Regions from separate parts of the Homo sapiens genome. Here all the other regions are linked to region 3. Evidence: promoter capture Hi-C in 16 types of primary human blood cells and fetal thymus (Javierre and others, 2016). All regions are on one chromosome and are shown on one strand. Each heading gives the region's core, a stretch centred on a gene start or on the middle of the fragment in contact. The rest is flanking DNA. Distances are from core to core; before and after follow the strand shown.

Region 1 (2,841 bases), core at 192-2,691, 1.1 Mb before region 3:
TCCTGGAAGAGGAACTTTAGGTGAGCTCTTAAGTGTCCAGTACAGGAAGGCAGGGAACAATACGCAGCACTGGTCCCTGCACGGGCAAACCCAAGAATATGTGTGAAAGGTTGGTGGACAGATAGATGGTTCCCACAGGCTGATTTGCTACATACAGAACTCCATAGAAAGAACCAAGGTTATGGTTGGTCCTACCCTACCTAAACAGGAAATGGCTTATTCTCGGAGACTAAAGTGCCAAGTCCGGAAAGACCAGACAGATACACAGAATTACAGACTGTTACATAAAGTCCTTAATAGTTACAAGCCCTTGTTGTGCTATGTGCTAGTCTGCATTATTTTCACCTAAATGAAACCATTTCTACTTAGTACATGGCGTGAGAAGACGTGGAGATAAAGAGAATTAGCAGACGTATATTATCTGCAATTTATCTTACGGAGGAGTACATTAAGGAGTGTTATGTGAGATTATTTCTTTACAAACTGAGAATAGGTAGGAAGAGCAGCGAAACACAGCGCGGCTCGGTGCGCCCAGAGCGGCGTCACTGTAACAGTACAGAAGTGGGCAAGGGGCTCTCGGAAGGACAGTTGGGGAACGGCGCCCAGCGTATTTAGCGAACGGACAAGCAGCAAGGAAAAACAAGGGAGCAACAACCGCCTTCGGACATTCCGACCGGTTCTGGGATGCACCGGGGACGTCGAAGGCGGGGTGCGGAAAAACGCTGTGGCTGGAGTGCGGGTGGGAGCGGCGGCTCGACCGGGTCGACATTCTACAAACGCTTGTGGAACGAACGCCCGAACGCGCGCGTGAATGAATGGCGCGGAACTGAATGGCCGGCCGAGGCGCCGGCGCAGGAGGAAGGAGTTTGCGGCGCGGTCTGACCGGGCCGGCGGGATGCGGCCGGGCGCGGAGGGAAGGGCCGCTGCGCCAGGGGTCGGCGCGGGGCGGCCCATGGGGCTGGCGGCGGCGCGGGGCCGGCCGCGCCATGACGGAAGGGAAGGGGAGGGGAGGTCACACATTACATAACCCGGCGGCTGCGAGCGTCAGGGGAAGGCGCCGTGGACAGCCCAGGCCGCGACAGGACGGCCGCGGGCCGGGGCCGGGGCGACGCACCCCTCCCCCGCGCCACCTCAGGCCGACCGCGCTCTGGCCGCTGCCGGGCGGGTCTGCGGCGCCTCCGGGCGACGCGTGTCCGATCCCGCCCCTCCCCCACCCCGCCGCCGGCCCGGGGGTCGCTCACCTTCCGCGTTGCCCCAGACCACCATGCCCGGGCCCGGCGGCCTTCTCCGGCCTTGCGGACCCCGGCCCCGCCGCCGCCAGTGCCCTCGCCAGGGACCAGGGAGGAGGGCCGGGGGAAGGCAGCCCCACCGCTGAGCAGCGCCGCGGTCCACGCTCCCCCACGCTCGCGGCAACCAACCCCGCGCGCGCTCCGCGGTGGCTCTCCGCCCCTCCCCCTCCGGTTAGCGCGCGCGCCGCAGCCACGCCCCCTAGCGTTCCGCGCGCGCTCCCCGGCCCCGCTCGCGCTCACAGCCGCGCGGCGCACGCGCTCTGCTCCCCCCGGCCCGGGGCGACCCCAGCCTCGGGCGTAGCACCGCGGCGCCCGGCGTCGGCCTCCGTGTTCCTCCCCTCCCCGGCCCCGCCCTGTTGTTCTGCAGCCGCCCGCAAGGGGCAGCGCCTGGGCGGCACGTGACCGTCTCGCTAGCTGGGCGGAGGGGAGCGCAGCGCGGGCCCGCCCACGCACTGCGCCGCCTGCCCGCCCGTCCTGCTCCGGTCACCCCCGCGCTTCGTTGACCGGGTCGCGGCTCTTCGGTTGCCATTCGGACAGCGCGCCGCTCCGTGCACAGCGAGTCCCCGCGCCTGCCCCGCCTTGGGGCTCCCCAGTGGGGAAGGACACAAGTGCAGACACTGACCGGGCTTCAAACCCCGGTACTGTGTGAAGATGCGCCAGACGCCCGGGTTCCCTCCTTAAGCAATTGATTTACAGTGACATCTAGTGGAGAAAGGGACACACATGAACTGACATTTTCCTATGTCCAGAGCAACCGAGAACCACGGCCCACTCAGGTTCGCGGGAAGGAGCACTGCGCCACGGCGTTTTCGGGATTCGTGGCCTGCTCCCGCAGGGCACAGACACTATCTTCTGTCCTTTGAGTGCCCGGGCAGCATTGCGCCTGAGTATTTGTAAACGGAGGGCCGGTATCCCATCCCATGTACAGCGCTGGAGTTACCCGAGAAAGCAGTTTTCTATGAATATAAAAATAATATCCTATATTATGTATGCGTAAGTACAATTCTAATTGAGGGCCTTCTAGCAGAAAACAATCCGTCCATAAGGACCACTTTCTCCCTCTTGGCAGGGTCGCTTTGAAGACTCCACATTGTTACATAATAGTCTTTATTGTTGTAATGCACAAACATGAAGATACTTTTTTCCCACTCATTCCCTTGCCTAAAATGCTTCAGAGTTTGCAGGTACTTAGGAAACAATCAGTATTCTTTTGAAAACTGATTTGCAGAGTTGGAACTTGTTTACTAGCAACACAGAGAATACTCAAATAGCTCATTTCTTTCCCTTTCAGTTTTTTGCCATTTTATAGACTTCTATAAATGCACTTCAACTTCAGTATTCTCGTCGCTAATCCAACGAATTTAGATTGCATACTTTTCAAAGACGTCATAATTTAAAACAAATTGCGTAATTGCTTTCTTTTCTTTTCTTTTCTTTTGAGACGAAGTTTTGCTCTTTTGCCCAGGCTGGAGTGCAATGGCGCGATCTCGGCTCACTGCAACCTCCGCCTCCCAGGTTCAAGTGATTCTCCCACCTCAGCCTCCCGAGTAGC
Region 2 (3,001 bases), core at 498-2,997, 1.4 Mb before region 3:
AAAAGTCCAGTGGATCTAGCAATATGAATGTCACCCGTGACCTTAGCAAAAGCACTTTTGCTGGAATAATGGGGAAAAGCCATTTTGGAGTACGTTGAAACAATGAATGGGAAGTGAGAAAGTAGATACTGGATGTATAGCAGTTTTTCCAAGAAGCTTGGCTCAGAAGGGTAGCAGACAGGATGACAAGTGGAAAGAGAAATGAGGTCACTGGAGGATTGTTAAAGAGTACAGCATGTTTGAGTGTCACTTGAAAGGTTCCAGTGGAGAAGCTGAAGAAGTAGGTAAAGGTAAGAATAACCAAGGGACAGAAGTCCTGGAGCAGGGAGGAGGGAATGGGATTCTTTAAAACCTCTTCATCAAGAAACTAGGAAAAAAAACCAAAGTTGTACCATCTCAGATTTCAGAGAAAGGGAATTTAGAAGGAAGTAATATAAGCAAAGAGCAACAATATTCTGTGACTGTTTTTAATAATAACTAGGAAAATTCCTAGTGCAGTTAACTCTGAACAAAATTCATTCCCACCTGCATAATACAAGATAGACTTACTCAGAGTGACCTTGGTAAAAGGTGTGATAATAAAGAAAGGAGGTGTCATTATGTCTTCATTGTAGCTTTATATGAAGCCCTGGTCATTTACCGTATCAGCATCAGCAAACTGAACACTGAATGATTCTTACTCCAAGAGGCAAGTCTTAGTGGTTTCTATTTTAACTGAAGGAGAGATTAATTTCTGTGCAAGGTTGAAAAAGGTGACCACAAATTCTTTGGGCTTCTTTCATCAAGAGGTGAAGTCCATTACCCCACGCCTTAACTCTGGGCTGGCTTTGTTGTTGTTTTGGCCAATAGAATATGGCTGAGGCGCTGCTTCCAAGATTAGGCCTGAATTGAGATGCCCTAGCAGCCAGGCAGCACCTGCCAGAGCATGAATAAGGCTATCTTGGACCGCCCAGCGTAGCCAACCTGTGCTGAATGAAGCCACATGAATATGCCCAGGAGAAACTAGCAGAAGAATCACCCACCTTGCCCACGTTAGAGATATAAACCACTATTTGAGGCAGTTTGTTATGCAGCAAAACTTAGCCGAAACTATTACCTTGCTACCTTGACTGCTGGTGTAATTTCCCATCTCATGGAGTCACAGAGTTTTCTTGCCAACTGCAGTGAGTTGGCAAATGGGAATGATCAGTAGCCTCAGTGTGTTTTCTGATCCACTCCATCCTGTATTATCATCTGCGAATACCGTTTTTCCTTTAAATGCAATGTGTCTTTCAAAGCTGACTTGAATTTCTCACCTTTCGAGTTACCTGCCATTTGGACTCACTTATTTGGAGGAGATATGTAAAGACCCAGCGTAATACCTGTATGCTCAATAAAAAGTATTTGCTGGTACTCCTTCCTGCCCGTCGTGTGACCTGACTGCTCTGGGCTTCTGGGGGCTCCCCCTAAACTCGCTCCACGAAATGACCCCTCCAACCTGGCACGCCCGCTCTCCTACCTTCGCCCAGGGCTGGCCGTTATCTCTGTGCTGTCACGCGGGGAAGTCCCATCTGAACTGGGGCCTTATGACCTTCGGTACTTTTATTCGAACGTAGCCTGCGTCCCTGCCTGGAACCTGGTTCCCGCCCTGAAGGACCCTTACTTAGCACTCCTGCGGGCTGCCGGGACCCCACGGCTCCGCAGGCGGAGAGACTAGGCGCGATCCCTGCGCGCCCCTCCTTCTCTTGCGCTTCAGGGGGCCGGCCCTCAGGGGGCGGGGCAGCATCGCGCGCAAGGCCTGCCGGTTGCTCGGGGTCGTATGACGCACTTTTCCAGCTCGAGCCCTCACGAGGCCGTGGGTACGACCGGAAGCCGCAGGTGGGTGAAGCGGAAACGCTTCAAACCGGGATGTTGCGGGCCGTAGCGCGTGGGCGGCCGTGGGGTCTTGGGCGCGCGCGGTGTTTCTGGCGGTGGGTCAGGACTTGCGGGTCGCCTCCGCCGGTGTTGAAGCCTCTTGTGTGCACACTTTCTCCTCAGCACTTGGGACGACCTAATTTCACTGTTAGGAACGGTTGATCCCGAACACAGGAGGGAGGGTAAATATCGTAAAACATGTTGGACGCTAGCTGTGTGCACGCCCCCTGGGAGCCAAAAGGGCGAAGTAAAACATGCACACGACCGTAATGAGATTCTGAGTAAGTTGTATATCATTAGAGAGGGGACAAAATAATAGGGTCTTGGCGAGGTCTTATGAAGAAGCTGCGCCTGCCTAGAAAGATAGATGGGATTGTGCTGTTTTCGCTTTCAGTTCAGTGATGGGGAGCCGTGTTTGGCAGTGCAGAGGTAGCGAAGTGTCCCAAGAACATGGAAGGTAAGGAAGTCTTCCGAGGAAAAACTTCAAAAAATTAGTCATTAAAGGGTGAGAGTAGAAAGATTCAAAGTGATTTTGAAGGAACAAAATTTAACCAGAACTTCAAAGGCTTGACACTATCCCAACGACTGTGAAATATCCTGAAATACCGTGCATTACTCAGTCGGGGTCTGATCCGCTACTGGAGCATAGAATAAAAAAAGAGGGGCACACCTGTGCCAGATGAATCCACGCCTTCTCTAGGGGAGAGAGGGTATCCCGGCTTAAGAGCAGGGGCTCTCCTGAGTTAAGGAAGTGTCTTCCCCAGAGCCCATTCCGTCAGACGTTCATATCATGTAACTCAGTCCTTTTCTGATTATGTATTCACCAAGCAAACTTAAGAGTTGGCTTGTCACCAGACCTACAGTGAATAATTGCACAGGCTCATCTGAATATCTGATAGATGGTCTATAGTTCTCTTTGTAAATCAATAAGCTGGCAGTCAGGGATTTTTGGACATCCCTTTGTTTTCACTTTTTCTCACTCTGTGTGATTTTTTCTTATCTTTCGGGGTTCAACTGAAATGTCACATCCTCACTGAGGTCTGTTTATTGGTTTACGTGTTCAGGTGCTTAGAACAGCTTCTTGCATCTTTTCTCACATGATGCCTTT
Region 3 (2,929 bases), core at 239-2,738:
AAAGGCTGGGGATGAGGAAAGGACAAAACACCACCTGCTCTGTTGCTGTGCAGGACTGAGCAAGAAGCACAGGATCAAACTCAAAGTTAGTTCCAGTCCTGATTTTGGTGGTAAGACCCAAGGAAAATTCATTAACAAACATTGTGCTGCCAGATACATTAATAAATCCCTAAAAGGGCCTGTAATTCAGTTGAAATGAGTGAGAAAAATCTTAAGGATCCTTATAAATTAAATAAAAACTCCTTGCTCTCAAGCAATCATTTGATTCACTCTATATCAACGACTGTGCACTTTAGCATCACCTGAGGATCTTTAAGAAAGTATCTGTGCTAGGCCTCATTTCCAAGGATTTAATTTGTCTGGGGATGGAGCCCCAGGACATTCCTAGTTTTTGAGGGCTTCCAGGTGATTCTAATGCATAGCCACGGTTGGAAGCCCTGCGCCTATCTCACAGGTGTGTGGGTCTCTACTCTCTGTGTCCGCTTAGTTGCCAGGAGGCAGCAAGTTAGCCCACGTGTGCAAGATGCTTCCTTCCATACCAGGTAGGAATATTGCTCTCTTAAACTTGGAGTGTGCCTGGGCAGAAGCTCTGGAGCCCAATACCTGCATTTTACAAGTCAGATTGCTGCTTTTTGCTCAGTGCCTGTGTGCCTGCATACATGGGTCTCCTGATACTCAGGCACGGCAGATGACTTTCACCTTTGTTTTAGTGTTTTGCTCACTGCTGCATCTGCAGAGCCTAGAATGGTGCCTGGTACACAGCAGGCTCTCAATGTCTTATTAATGAGTTGCCTTTTCCAAGGCTGAAGTGATCGTGGGTGAATTCCAGAAGACCCTGCATCATTTTTATTTATTTATTTATTTAAGACGGAGTCTCGCTCTGTAACCCAGGCTGGAGTGCAGTGGAGAGATCTCAGCTCACTGCAAGCTCCGCCTCCCCCGTTCAAGCAATTCTTCTGCCTCAGCCTCCAGAGTAGCTGGGATTACAGGCAACCACCACTACGCCCGGCTAATTTTTTTGTATTTTTAGTAGAGACGGGGTTTCACCATGTTGGCCAGGCTGATCTCGAACTCCTGACCTCAAGTGATCCGCCCGCCTCGGCCTGGGATCACAGGCGTGTGCCACCGCGCCCGGCCTAGAGGCAATTTTCTATTTCTGACTTGTTAGGCTAGTCAGAGCGAGACGTCTTTACAGGTTTGGGCCGGCAGCTGGAAAAGGCACACGGCCCCGGGCTCCTCCTCCACCCAGCCCCACCCCTCCTCCGCTGAAGACCAGCCCTAATAAGGCAGCCACCAGAATTAGAACCAGGTCAAGTGCACTCCGAGCAGGACAGTAGGCAGATCCTATCTGGCGCATGCGAACGCTTCTGTGCCAGTTCCTTGAAGAGCAGGCGCAGACTCAAGGCTGTTGCTTCCGCCCTTACTCCCCGCCGCTCGTCCCTGGGCGGGGCGAAGGCTGGGCTGGGGGAAGAGGCGTGGCGGCGCTGTGCGCGTGCACAAAAGAGAGCTGAGGGGCGGGGGCGCTGCGGCACAGCTGGTTTGAGCAACTGAACTGGAAACAAGATGCAGGTGAGCTAGGACGGGTCTCGGGTCTGGGGGCTGCGGCCCGTTCCTTTGTCTCGTTAGGCCCGGGCGGGCAGTGGACGCCCGCCCTGGGGGAAGCTCCGGCGCCGCAGGCACGAGGGAGGCCCGGCGCGTCCAGGCCCTGCGCAGGCGCAGTGCGGGAGGCGGGCGTGGTCCCACCAGGACCCACGGCCTGGGCGTCCCCGCCTCGGTGTGCCGGGTCCCCCAAACCTCGTCCTCCGGGACTATGTCTTCTCGCGGTCTCTACCCACCCGGGCCTGTGAAGGTCTTGCCGGATCCCGCCTAACAAAAGTTACCTCCTCTCCTGAACTCCCCTAAGGCACACCTGGGCAGAGGTGTTAGGAAGCGGAGGGTCCGGCCTGGGGTCTTCCGCACGTAAAGCAGCGCCACAGCCGGTGTTCCTGGCTCCACTGAGAGCCAGGTGAGGGCTTAGTTACACCCTCTTCCCCCGAGCCCTGGGATCCGCTTGGGGCGTGTTCCCTATCTGACCGCTCGGGTTCCAGAGCTCCCCGCGAGGGTCCCTCTGTTTCGTCCTTTTTTTTTTTTTTATTAAAATAGGTAAAATAAATTATTTTTCTGTAGCTGCAATTTACTAGCGGAATTTGGTTAAAGCCTAAGGAGAATGAATGAAAACACCATGGAAATGGGCACTATTGTGGGTGAAAACCTATGCCAACTAAATTTTGTCACTGTCCAAAGATCCCGCAGTGGTCAGAAATTCTAATCTCTGCTTAGTGGCAGATGGAGAGGAGAGGGTGCGGGTTTTGCTGGGGAGGGAGGCATTAGGGGCTGGAGGGGAGGGCGTGTCTGCCAGGAGCCAGACACTGTTTTTTTTTTTTTTGAGACCGGGTCTTGCTCTGTTGCCCAGGCTGGAGTGCAGTGGCTCTGTCACAGCTCACTGCAACCTCGACCTCCCGGGGCTAAGCCATCCTCCCTTGTCAGCCTCCGGAGTAGCTGGGACCACAGGCGTGCACCCACCACTCTGGGCTAATTTTTTGTGCAGATGGGGTCTCCCTATGTTGCCCAGCCTCAGCCTCCCAAAGTGTTGGGATTACAGGATGAGCCACCGCACCTGGCCTAGACACTCTTAAATGGTGAAGTGGTAGCTTGAGGGCTGCCCTGGCCTCCTTTGCATTCCCTGTCCTTCAGGTCCCTTGAGGCCTTCCCTGACCACCCTGTAGAAAGGATTCTGCTCTTTTTGTTTGTTTGTTTGTTTGTTTCTTTTTGAGACAGAGTCTTGCTCTGTCGCCCAGGCTGGAGTGCAGTGGCGCGACCTCGGCTCACTGCAAGCTCCGCCTCTCCAGTTCACGCCATTCTCCTGCCTCAGCCTCCTGAGTAGCTGGGA

The links. The method cuts DNA at HindIII sites, captures the fragments that hold promoters and counts their contacts. A CHiCAGO score of 5 or more calls a contact.
Region 1: a contact is called between the fragment with the promoter of REV1 here and the fragment with the promoter of PDCL3 in region 3, in 2 of 17 cell types (neutrophils and monocytes). The highest score is 8.3, in neutrophils.
Region 2: the fragment with the promoter of TSGA10 here is called in contact with the fragment with the promoter of PDCL3 in region 3 in 1 of 17 cell types (monocytes); the score reaches 5.6 in monocytes.

What each region holds. Positions count from the first base shown.
Region 1 is chr2:99,488,576-99,491,416 of GRCh38, forward strand. REV1 (REV1 DNA directed polymerase) reads right to left here and starts at 1,442. Exons shown (of 23, transcript NM_016316.4): 1 at 1,242-1,442. RefSeq lists silencers at 917-996, 1,067-1,166, 1,277-1,946 and an enhancer at 1,380-2,265. The HindIII fragment of the contact is 11,070 bases long and covers 1-2,841 here.
Region 2 is chr2:99,153,195-99,156,195 of GRCh38, forward strand. It overlaps TSGA10 (testis specific 10), which reads right to left and starts at 1,748. Exons shown (of 21, transcript NM_025244.4): 1 at 1,499-1,748. It overlaps LIPT1 (lipoyltransferase 1), which reads left to right and starts at 1,773. Exons shown (of 2, transcript NM_145199.3): 1 at 1,773-1,857. RefSeq lists enhancers at 1,380-2,001, 1,391-1,590, 1,651-1,880, 1,911-2,110, 2,191-2,270 and 1 more. The HindIII fragment of the contact is 4,304 bases long and covers 155-3,001 here.
Region 3 is chr2:100,561,505-100,564,433 of GRCh38, forward strand. It overlaps PDCL3 (phosducin like 3), which reads left to right and starts at 1,489. Exons shown (of 6, transcript NM_024065.5): 1 at 1,489-1,569. The coding sequence starts at 1,564. RefSeq lists an enhancer at 234-1,030 and a silencer at 1,476-1,815. The HindIII fragment of the contact is 6,473 bases long and covers 1-2,929 here.